2 separate regions of the Homo sapiens genome follow, and region 2 is linked to region 1. The links are contacts of gene promoters, found by promoter capture Hi-C in blood cells and fetal thymus (Javierre and others, 2016). All regions are on one chromosome and are shown on one strand. Each heading gives the region's core, a stretch centred on a gene start or on the middle of the fragment in contact. The rest is flanking DNA. Distances are from core to core; before and after follow the strand shown.

Evidence for each region. Contacts are between HindIII fragments. The CHiCAGO score rates a contact against its expected background, and 5 or more counts as called.
Region 2: a contact is called between a fragment that was not itself captured here and the fragment with the promoter of GTF3C6 in region 1, in 3 of 17 cell types (megakaryocytes, M2 macrophages and M1 macrophages). The highest score is 10.5, in megakaryocytes.

What each region holds. Positions count from the first base shown.
Region 1 is chr6:110,956,083-110,961,784 of GRCh38, forward strand. GTF3C6 (general transcription factor IIIC subunit 6) reads left to right here and starts at 2,624. Exons shown (of 6, transcript NM_138408.4): 1 at 2,624-2,744; 2 at 3,090-3,170; 3 at 4,332-4,395; 4 at 4,490-4,534. The coding sequence starts at 2,688. RefSeq lists an enhancer at 2,497-2,946. The HindIII fragment of the contact is 8,604 bases long and covers 966-5,702 here.
Region 2 is chr6:110,876,072-110,881,773 of GRCh38, forward strand. The region is part of intron 1 of AMD1 (adenosylmethionine decarboxylase 1); the gene reads left to right. Among named protein-coding and RNA genes, the nearest start is that of AMD1, 4.1 kb to the left of the region's middle. RefSeq lists an enhancer at 1-566. The HindIII fragment of the contact is 1,622 bases long and covers 643-2,264 here.

The DNA of each region.
Region 1 (5,702 bases), core at 1,374-3,873:
CAAGGCAGGTGGATCACTTGAGGTCAGGAGTTCAAGGCCAGCCTAGCCAACATGGTGAAACCTGTCTCTACTAAAAATACAAAAATTAGCCCGGTGTGGTATCGTACACCTGTAATCCCAGCTACTAGGGAGGCTCAGACACAAGAATTGCTTAAACCCAGGGGGCAGAGATTGCAGTGGGTCAAGATCACGGCACTGCACTCCAGCCTGGGCGACAGAGCCAGACTCCGTCTCAAAAAAAAAAAAAAAAAGGAAAAAAAAAAGCTCCCTTTTAACTGTGTATTCTTTTGTAAATCATTAAAAGTAAATAAAAATAATTACTTCATAAATACCAAACAATAACTTTTGCTAGAAGTATGAGGCTTGTTTATTTTAAAGGGACATCTTGAGTTATAACACACTAACCTTTCAAAACACACATATTTTCATTCCTCAAGCCTTTGTTTCTGCTGTTCCCTCAGCTTGGATTATCCACTCCTCCTTACTCTCCCCACATCTCCCTCAAAATCTGACAATTTATGTAATTTTTCAGTTTACCAAGTATTTTTAGATATACGATTGAATTTTTGCTTTCCAAGCAAAAAAGACACAGTAAGTATTATTATTATTTTTTGAGACGGAGTCTTGCTCTGTCGGCCAGGCTGGAGTGCAGTGGCACAATCTTGGCTCACTGCAAGCTCCGCCTCCCGGGTTCACGCCATTCTCCTGCCTCAGCCTCCGGAGTAGCTGGGACTACAGGTGCACACCACCATGCCCAGCTAATTTTTTTGTGTTTTTAGTAGGGACAGGGTTTCATCGTGTTAGCCAGAATGGTCTCAATCTCCTGACCTTGTGATCCGCCCGCCTCAGCATCCTAAAGTGCTGGGATTACAGGCTTGAGACACCGCACCCGGTGTTAAGTATAATTATTTTCATCCTCATATAATAAATAAGAAAACTGAGGTTGGAAAACTTCACAATTATTAAGCTTCAGAGCTAGAATTGAAATGTACTTCTAACAGGTCCAGTGTTCCTTCTACTTTTTTAAGCTATGAAATCCTATACATTTAATTAGGCAACTGGACAAAAATATACACAAAAGAGTGTTATTTACAATATCCACAAATTGTAAATAACCTATGTGTTAAAAAATAGAGGATCAAGTTATGGCACACTCATACAACCATTATGTAAAGACAGGCGCTGTGGCGTGCACCTGTAGTCCCAGTTACTCAGGAAGCAGAGGTAGGAGGCTCCCTTTGAGCCCAGGAGTTTGAGGGTACAGGGAGCTACGATGGCGCCACTGCACTCCAGGCTGGGCGACAGAGCCAGACCCTGTCACAAAAAAGAAAGGAAAGAAAGAGAGAAAGAAAGAAACAAACAATGAATAAAAGAAAGAGAGAAAGAGCATCATACTAAAAAATTTATATATTACTACTAATAATAGATTAAATGCACTTTAAATGCTTACTATGTGCTGAATACTGGGCTAAATTTATTTTATATGTATTGTCTCATTTAATCCTCACAACCACCAATCTGCCCAAAGCCTTGCTGTTAATAATGCAGCAGAACTTGACTGGTATTAAAATCCAAAGCTCAGGCTGGGGACGGTGGCTCACACCTGTAATCCCAGCATTTTGGGAGGCCCAGGCAGGGGGATCGCCTGAGGTCGGGAGTTCGAGACCAGCCTGACCAACATGGAGAAACCCCGTCTCTACTAAAAATAACAGAATTCGCCGGGCGTGGTGGCGCATGCCTATAATCCCAGCTACTCGGGAGGCTGAGGCAGGAGAATCGCTTGAACCCGGGAGGTGGAGGCTGCAGTGAGCCGAGATTGCACCATTGCACTCCAGCCTGGGTAACAAGAGCAAAACTCCATCTCCAAATAAATAAATAAATAAAAATCCAAAACTCACGATCTTAACCACTAGATCACGCTATCGCAAGTACGAAGACCGTTTCTTTCACAATCACAAACATCTATGGGATACTTCTGAAAATTCTGTTCAAACTTCTCTTGCCCAGGTCTCTGTGTTCCTATAACAATGTGTATCTCTTACAGCACTTGCTTGGATCCATTTATGTACCTCTCACAGATCTTATGCTCCTGCAGGCCTGAAACTTAAGCCCACTTTCTATTTTTCATAGCTCCTGGTGCAGTGCTTTTTACTGTGTAGGCGCTCATTAGTATTAAACTGAATGTGCCTTTAACTTGGCTTGGGGTACGTTGAATTGAGGATGAGCGCTCACACAATATTAAGAATTTCTTTCCAAGAAATGTGCTCGGGTCAAACACAAGGCCTTTCTGTCCATGATCCGCCTGAAACCATGGTTTCCTTGTTTTCGCCTTTATCCCTTCTGCCTTGCCAGTCCTCCCCGCCAGCGGGGCCGAGAGCCCGGCGACTCTTGCGTGACCGAGCGGGCTCCGCTGCCTACGGCAGCCCACCCCCAGCCCCTGCTCTGAGGCACCGAGAAACGAGGAGGCCCGTGGCGAGTCTCCACGTGGGTACCGGCGCTCTCGGCGCCCGTAGCCACCCGCCCGCCGGAAGCCGACATCTCGAGTTCTGGCAGAAGCAATTTGCGCGGCGAGGAGCGGAGCGGCAGGAACCCAATAAGCTGCTTCGCCTCGGAGCTGAAGCCCGTACTCAAGATGGCGGCTCCGGGCGGGCGTGGCCAGTGACTAGAAGGCGAGGCGCCGCGGGACCATGGCGGCGGCGGCGGACGAGCGGAGTCCAGAGGACGGAGAAGACGAGGAAGAGGAGGTAGTAAGCGCTACGCCAAAAGCCTGCACCGCAGTGGCGGTGATGCCTGTGCTGGCTGTGTGTGGGGAAGGGAGTTGGGGAGCTGCGGGCCGGAGGGAGGCCCCACTGCTCCTCACCGGCTTCTTGCTCCTGGGCGCGAGGAGCCGGGCAGCTTGGGACCTTAGCCCTAATCGTCACCCCGTACTTGGGATGGGAAGTACCGGGAAGTTACCTTAGGTAGCGTAGTTTCCTCTTGCTGAAAACAGGGTCCGGTTTTCACAAATGTGGGAAATTTGGCTTCTTTTGCTAATTGCTCCCTCTTGGCCGCTCGCGTGCTAGCATGTTAACCCCTCTTTCTTTCACCAGGAGCAGTTGGTTCTGGTGGAATTATCAGGAATTATTGATTCAGACTTCCTCTCAAAATGTGAAAATAAATGCAAGGTTTTGGTGAGTTTTCTAGACTTGGGGGGATTGTTCTAGAGTGTCTTAAATGTAAAACAAGAATCAATGGTGAAATACCTATCCGCAAGTATTGATATATTTATTTCACCTTACAAAGTAGTGAACTCTAAGGATAAGAAGTATACTAAGTATAATTAATTAATATGTAATTAAGTATAATGTAGAAGTACAGCGGGGACTATGGGAGCAGATAGGAGAAAATGGCTAACTTTGCTTGCCTGTTTGAATGTGTGGCTGAAGAGAAAGTTACAGATTTGGAGGAAGTAACATTGTGATATGGAACCGTACATATATTCCTGTATTCTCAGCACTTTGGGAGGCAGAGGTGGGAGGATCACTTGAGCCCAGGAATTGGAGACCATCCTAGGCAACATAACGAGACCCCTTCTCTAAAATAATAATAAAAAAAAATGGCCAGGCGCGGTGGCTCACGCCTGTAATCCCAATACTGGGAGGCCGAGGCGGGTAGATCACGAGCCCAGGAGTTCGAGACCAGCCTGGCCAACATGGTGTAACCCCGTCTCTACTGAAATACAAAAATTAGCCAGGCATGGTGGTGGGCGCCTGTAATCCCAGCTACTCGGGAGGCCGAGACAGGAGAATCGCGTGATCCCTGGAGGCAGAGGTTGCAGTGAGCCGAGATCGCGCCACTGTACTCCAGCCTGGGCAACAAAGGGCAAAACTCCATCTCAATAAAAAAAAAAAATAATAATAATAATAAATTAGCTGGGGATGGTGGCATGCGCCTGTGGTCCCTGCTGCTCAGGAGGCTGAGGTGGGAGGATTGCCTGAACATGATCATGCCACTGCATTCCAGCCTGGGTGACAGAGCTAGACACTGTCTCAAAAAATAAATAGATGACAGATAGACTCTTTGCACTACTGTTGACAAAACTTCCTCTGTTTTTAGCTTACTCTTGAACAGGATGTTGATTGAAATAAACCTTGTTACTTGAGTATGAATTAAGTAGTCTTCAGGTTGTAACTGCTGTGATCAGAGCAGTTGTAGTTTATCCTGTACTTGGTAGGACAAGATGCTCTAGAGGTTCCCCAGTTTTGGAGATTAGTTTCCTTGGTAGCAAGGTTACAATGTTGAAGCCTTTTTCTAATTATGTTTTTTTTTTATGATCCTTTATTCTGTTGTAGGGCATTGACACTGAGAGGCCCATTCTGCAAGTGGACAGCTGTGTCTTTGCTGGGGAGTATGAAGGTAGGAGGATGTCAGATAGATGGAACTCTTTCTGATATGGGCTTTTCAGAGATGGTAGCTCTTCTCAACAATTTGCCTTTGTATTTTTCTGCAGACACTCTAGGGACCTGTGTTATATTTGAAGAAAATGTTGAACATGGTAAGTGATTGCTAGCCCAGCCCTTTTTAATACGAACTATTTCAATCATACTTAAGCATAATAAATATCTCATGTATCCACTGTCTAGCTGTATCATATCCTATCATTTTCCCAAACGTGACTCAGATTATAGTTAAAAAAAAAAAATGCCAGGCTGGGCCAGGTGGCTCAATCCTGTAATCCCAGCACTTTGGGAGGCCAAGGCAGGCAGGTTACTTGAGGCCAGGAGTTCGAGACCAGCCTGGCCAACATGGCAAAACCTCATTTATACTAAAAATACAAAAATTAGCTGGGTATGGTGGCATGTGCCTCCCAGCTACTCGGGAGACTGAGGCACGAGAATTGCTTGAACCTGGGAGGTGGAGGTTGCAGTGAGCCGAGATCGCACCAGTGCACTTCAGCCTGGGCAACAGAGCTAGATAAACTGTGTCTCAAAAACAAACAAAAGAACCCATTCCAGATACATTTGAAGTCCTTCTATCCCCCTTTCCAAACTTACTTCTTTCCCTCTGTCTTCAGAGATGATCACTCTCCTGAATTCTTTTTTTTTTTGAGACAGAGTCTCACTCTGTCACCCAGGCTGGAGTGCAGTGGTGCAATCTTGGCTCACTGCAACCTCCACCTCCCAGGTTCAAGCAGTTCTCCTGCCTCAGCCTCCCGAGTAGCTGGGATTACAGGCGCCTGCCACCACGCCTAGGTAATTTTTCTATTTTTGGTAGAGACAGGGTTTCGCCATGTTGGCCAGGCTGATCTCAAACTCCTGACCTCAAGTGATCTGCCTGCCTCGGCCTCTCAAAGTGCTGGGATTACAGGTGTGAGCCACCACTCCTGGCCAAGGAATAAAAGAAGGGCTACTTCATAGGCAGAGCAGCCTACTTTCTAAAGTATGGTATCAATTTATACTCACAGTAGCAATGTATGGAAGTGTCTGTGCTTCATATCCTTGGCTCAAGGGCCTTATCCTCCGTCCTGCCTAGGCATACAGTTTTCTGAAAGTTTCAACTCCAGGCAGCAGGTTGGCAGCAATTTTTTTCCTCAGGCTTTCATGATTGAGAATGTCCCTACTCCATACTTTGGCTTCAGGTAGTAAGTCTGACTTTGGTCCTTAATTTGATTGGTAGAATTTTAGATCCCAATACGCTGTAGGGTAAAATTCCTGGCCCCAATT
Region 2 (5,702 bases), core at 204-2,703, 81 kb before region 1:
CCTTAAGCTTGAGCAAAGGAATCTGGGGCCCACTCCCACTGCGGGCCGTCACGCGAGAGATACTTGGGCTGACCGCGCCGAAGAGGCGTTTTAGTTGGTATTGCTGTGGAAATCCATGCTTATATAAAAGCCCAGAGATCCCGTGGATGCTTAGGCCTTGTTCCTGGCGGCGGTCGCACCGGTGGCCACCAATGGCCTTCCTAGGCCCTGCCACCGGATCCCTGGCTCCTCTGCGCACGAGTGCGGCTAGGGTGGCGGTGCAGCGGAGTAACTGGCGTGGCCAGCTTCATTGAGAGGCGGCGACCAATGGGCTCCTGGGCCGCACTCAGAGCCTGGCCCCAGGGTGTGGACCAATGGGCGTTTTAGGAGTGTTAGCTGTTCTTGGAGCTGTCCCTTGACAAAAAGCAACTGGAAAAGGGAATCCAGGCAGACACGTGCTACCGAGACTTTAAGGCACGACGGGAAACCCGGTTTCTAGCAGTGTATCTTGAACGATTCCATTGTAGAAAAAAATACTAGTCATAGCTAAAATGTCACACGTCTCATTTTTTTCAAGCTTCGTGTGACACTTAAAATGTCTATAGCGCTTACTACGTGCCAGGCTCACGTGAGATTATAGGAAGCGGACTTTGGTCATGGAGAAGCTTAGTATTTCCTTCATTTCACAGATGAGAAAGATGGTATTTGTGATAGACGTTTGGTAAAACGATTGTGATCAGGATAATTAACCTAGAAAATCTTGGCAAGAACCTAGAAAATCTTGGGTAAGAACAGTCCTAGAAAACGAATAACAGAAGTTGTCACTTTGGCTTTTTAAATGTTTGAGCCCTTAAATAATAGTAAGTACATGTTCTTAATAAAGGGAAGAAGATTTTGTTCTCCCCAAGTTCTTGGCGGTTTGGCTGTTTAGAGCTTCCTGAGTCAAAGTGGAGAGAGGAGGAAGAGGCTTTTTACAAAGCAGCCTGCTTTCTTTAAATGTTTAAGAACCCTTTTTACTTTGTACTTTAATCAGCCCAAATTGTTTTACTGCTCCAGTGTGGCTTTTAAAATCATGGCCAAAGTTAAACTTTGAAGGACAAAATATTCCCTTGTGTAGATGATTTAGTGCCATCCATTTTGTGGACATGTAACATTCATTGAACAACTATTGGTAGTACACTGCCACATTGTAACTGTTGTAGATAAAGCAAGTTAAGCAAGAACTGAAAAATATGTTGATTTAACTAAGGTCCCGTGATAACCTTCGTTGGAACATTTTTCAGTGACCACTCAAGTGGTTAGGTTATTTACCAGGATGTTTAAAAAAGCCTGAAATAGTAGGTGTTCCTTGAATCACCTAAAATCAACAGCCTAGCAAAGAGAGTATCATGGACGGAGTCCGGTCGGTGGGGACATGGGGCCAGCCCCAGAGACCCCAGGGAAGGATAATCGGTCATCTAGAAGAATAAAGCGTGACATGTTTTACTCAAATGACGTGATTAAGTGCATAGCCTCTGGAATAACAAGATTTGAATTCAAACAGCATTTAATAGCTGTGTGAGCTGTTTCCTCATCTGTAAAATGGAGACAATAATGGTACATAGCTCATGGAAGTTGTGAAGAATAAATAAGTTAATATGTTATATGTAGTACGTAAACTGTTATCTTTAACACTTTAAAGACAGGATCCCTCTATAGCCCAGGCTGGAGTGCAGTGGCAGGATCATGGCTCACTGCAGCCTTGACCTCCTGGGCTCTATTAAGATGTGAATAAACTAAAAGTAGGTTAAAAGATGAACAGATGGAATTAAACAAATCTGTTTATAAAGCATAATAAACATAGGGACATAAAAACGATTAAGAGAATGAAAGGCTTAAATGTCCAAAGAGAGCATTAGTATTGATGCTAAAGACAAGGATAACAAGATAAGGATATGAGGGAGAAAAAAATCCTGGAAAAATAGCTTTCCAAAACTAATGCAAGAAGAAATGGAGAACCCAAAACAGTCCTAGAACACCTAAATAACTTGAATCAGTCAATCATCTAGGCCCAGATGATTTCACTGGAGTGTTCTGTATAATTCAAGGGAGAAAATATCCAACTTTTTTCACGCATTCTTCTGGGAAACAACATACTTCCCTCGGTTTTCTCATCCCAAAGTCTGAAATATTTTTTTCTCCTACACGATATTTACCTTTCATATTTAGATCTGCAATCCATCTGGAATTGATTTTGTGTGTGGTGTGAGGGAATACACTTTAAACAAACTTGGCTCATCAGTCCAAGCTTTAATGCTTGGAATCTTTTCTGAATGTACACCTTTTTACTAAACACTGCTTCCCTCTTGTAGACCATTTAAGATATTTTATCTTAAGTGAACAAATTATGTAATACTGAGAAATTTAACAAAGAAAAATCTTTTATGATATAGCTTGGGTTAAACAATACTGTTGGAGAAAAGCAGCAGTCCAGGTATATCCAGATGAATAAAGGACAATTAAGGGAGAGGCGGTTTCTTAGGGGTAACCTGCAGTTTTCTCTGATTTTTCAGATTTTACGGATGTTGAATAAAAATCAGTGACCATTTAAAAAATGGTTTAGTTGTTGGATCAAAGTGCTGTAACAAACAAAAGCTTTTTATAAGACATGGCAGCTTTAGGGAGGGTGAGAGTAGTAAGAAGGAAATCTGTTAGAAAATAGAAAATTTTGCTGAGAAAAGAATGATTTTTCAGGACTGGAAATCCTATTACTGTGCTTTACTCAGATTTTATAAACTAAAACATAATTTTTAGTAAAGGATTGGGGCAGTTGTAAAGATAGTCATACCTCAGCTTAACTTTCCCCAAACTCATGACTTATTTGACTACATCATTATGCAGCATTATTGCAATATCAATAATTTACATTGAAGGAATTTACAACCCGTTGCCAAAAAACCTTTTAGTGTAATGTTTCAGAGTAGAAATGCTTCCTGCTAAAGAATAAAGCTTCTCGTTACATTCCTCCCAGCAGTTTCAAAAAGGTTTCATGGCTGGGCTTGGTGGCTCATGTCTAATCCCAGCACTCTGAGAGACCAAGGAGTTTGAGAGCCCAGTCTGGGCAACATAGTGAAATCCTGACTCTACAAAAAAAATTGAAAAATTATCTGTGCGTGCTGGTCCATCCTGGTGCGTGTCTGCATCCCAGCCACTCGGGAAGCTGAGGTGGGAGGATTTTTTTGAGCCATTGGGGGATCGAGGCTGCAGCGAAATGAGATTGCACCAGTGCGCTCCATCTGGTGGCAGAGTGAAACCCTCTCAACAACAACGAAAATATTTCAACTGTTGTTTACAAACCATGTATCTTTAAGAAGCACATGTTGAAAGTAGCAGAAAACTGAGAGGAGTATCCCGATTTGGGGTAAAAATTTGAGATAGAGAAACAATAATGTGATGATAATAGGTTCATATCTTTGAACAAAAGGGAGGAGGCTTATTTCTCAGGTTATCTGAATTCACTGCCGCAGGAAGGCACCCTCAGAATCTAACTTCTGGTCAGTCTAGCTTTACTCAAGAATGATCTGGTTTTAGGATGCCTTTTACCTAAAGACTGCTTACTACCTGGGGTAGAGGCACCCTGATGAATGTACTGTAATGAGAGCCTCTAAAACAGACCTAAAAATATGAGGTAAGAGCAGAATTGAGAAGCTGCAGTGACTTTGGATAAATTACCTGAACTCTGAAACCAGCTGGTTTTACATTAGGAAGTAATGAGTAATCTAATGACCTGGAAGCTTTTCAAATAAAAATTTGCAGGCATCATCCTCAGAAAGTGTCTGACCTAACTGGGTATGGGAATAGCATCTATGTATTGAGTTTTCAGGTGATTAGAGCATAACCCTGCACTAATGGGATCCTTCTGTATTTAAGTTCTTGGTCTTTTTTTTTTTTGGACAGTCTCAGTCACCCAGGTTCGAGTGCAGTGGTGCCATCTCAGCTCACTGCAACCTCCGCCTCCCAGGTTCAAATGATTCTCCTGCCTCAGCCTCCCTAATAGTGGGTACTACAGGTATGCACCACGATGCCTGGCTAATTTTTGTATTTTTAGTAAAAGACAGGGTTTCGCCATGTTGGCTAGGCTGGTCTTGAACTCCTGACTTCAAGTGATTGAGCCATCGCCCCTGGTCCCTTTGTCCATTTTTTAATCACTTTTTGTTGAGTTGTGTGTAGGTGTGTCTTTTGCTTTGGATATTGACCCCTTATGAGGTGACTTGCAAGTATTTTATTCTGTAGGTTGTCTTTTCACTCGTTTCTTTTGATGTATAGAAATGTTTACATTTTAGGTTTTCAAGTTCCATTTGTCTGTTTTTGATTTTATTGTATGTCATATCCAAGAAATCATTGCCAAATGTAATGCCCTGAAGCATTTACCCTATGTATTCTTCTAGGAGTTTTATTCGCTGTTAATGTTTAGGTTGTTGATCCATTTTGAGTTAATTTTTGTTTATGATGTAAGGTAAAAGTCCAACTTAATTTTGTTTGCATGTGGACATCCATTTTTTCCCAGCACTATTTGTGGAAGCGATGTTTTTCCCTGTTATGTAGGCTTGGGACTCTTGTTCAAGATAGTTGAGCTCAGTCATTTACTTCTTTTTTTGAGACACGCTTGTCTTGCTCTGTCTCCCAGGCTGAAGTGCAGTGGTGTGATTTTTGGTGCACTGTAGCCTCCGCCTCCTGGGTTCAAGTGATTCTCCTGCCTCAGCCTCACGAGTAGCTGGGACTACAAGCCTGCGCCACCACACCTGGCTAATTTTGGTATTTTTACTAGAGGCGGGTTTCGCTATGTTGGTCAGGCTGGTCTTGAACTCCTGACCTCAAGTGATCCGCCTGCCTCGGGCTCCCAAAATGCATTTAATCAGGCGACATAGAGAAGTCTTGTTATAATATAATTATCTTGTCCCTGTAGACATTTCTAAATTCTATTTTTATTAGACCTCAGCCTCTAAGAAAATGTTTTAAATATAAAATGTGGCATGCCACTAAAGTGTTGTTTTTCAGACATACAATTTGTGTGCTGTTATTAATATAGAACATCTATTTTTCTTTGGGATCATTTATCATGATCTCTGATTATATTTAATATTTTAGTATCTAGTCTTTAAGTGAAATTAGGGTATCTCAACCTCAGCATTCTTGACATTTTGATTCAGATAATTCACTGTTGTCAATGACTATCCTGTTAATTATACCGTGTGTAGCAGTGTCCCTGGCCTCTATCCACTGCATGCTGGCAACACCACCACCACCCCAGTTGTGATAAAAAATGTCTCCAAATGTTGCCACATGTCTTCTGGGTGGCAAAATTACTACAAGTTGAGAACCACTGAGTTAGATCAGAGAGGTGGCATTTAAGATGAGAAAAAGGAATTCAAATCAGGAAATACTCAATCTACATATTTCTTTGTGTTTTATAACCACCTAAGAATTGTGTGCTTCGGGCCAGGCATGGTGGTGCATGCCTGTAATCCCAAATCCCAGCACTTTGGGAGGCCGAGGCGGGTGGATTGCTTGAGGTCAGGAGTTCGAGACCAGCCTGGCCAGCATGGTGAAACACCTTCTCTACTAAAAATACAAAAAAAAAATTAGCCTGACATGGTGGCAGATGCCTGTAATCAGTCCCAACTACTCGGGAGGCTGGGGCAGGAGACTTGCTTGAACCTGGGAGGCGGAGTTTGCAGTGAGCT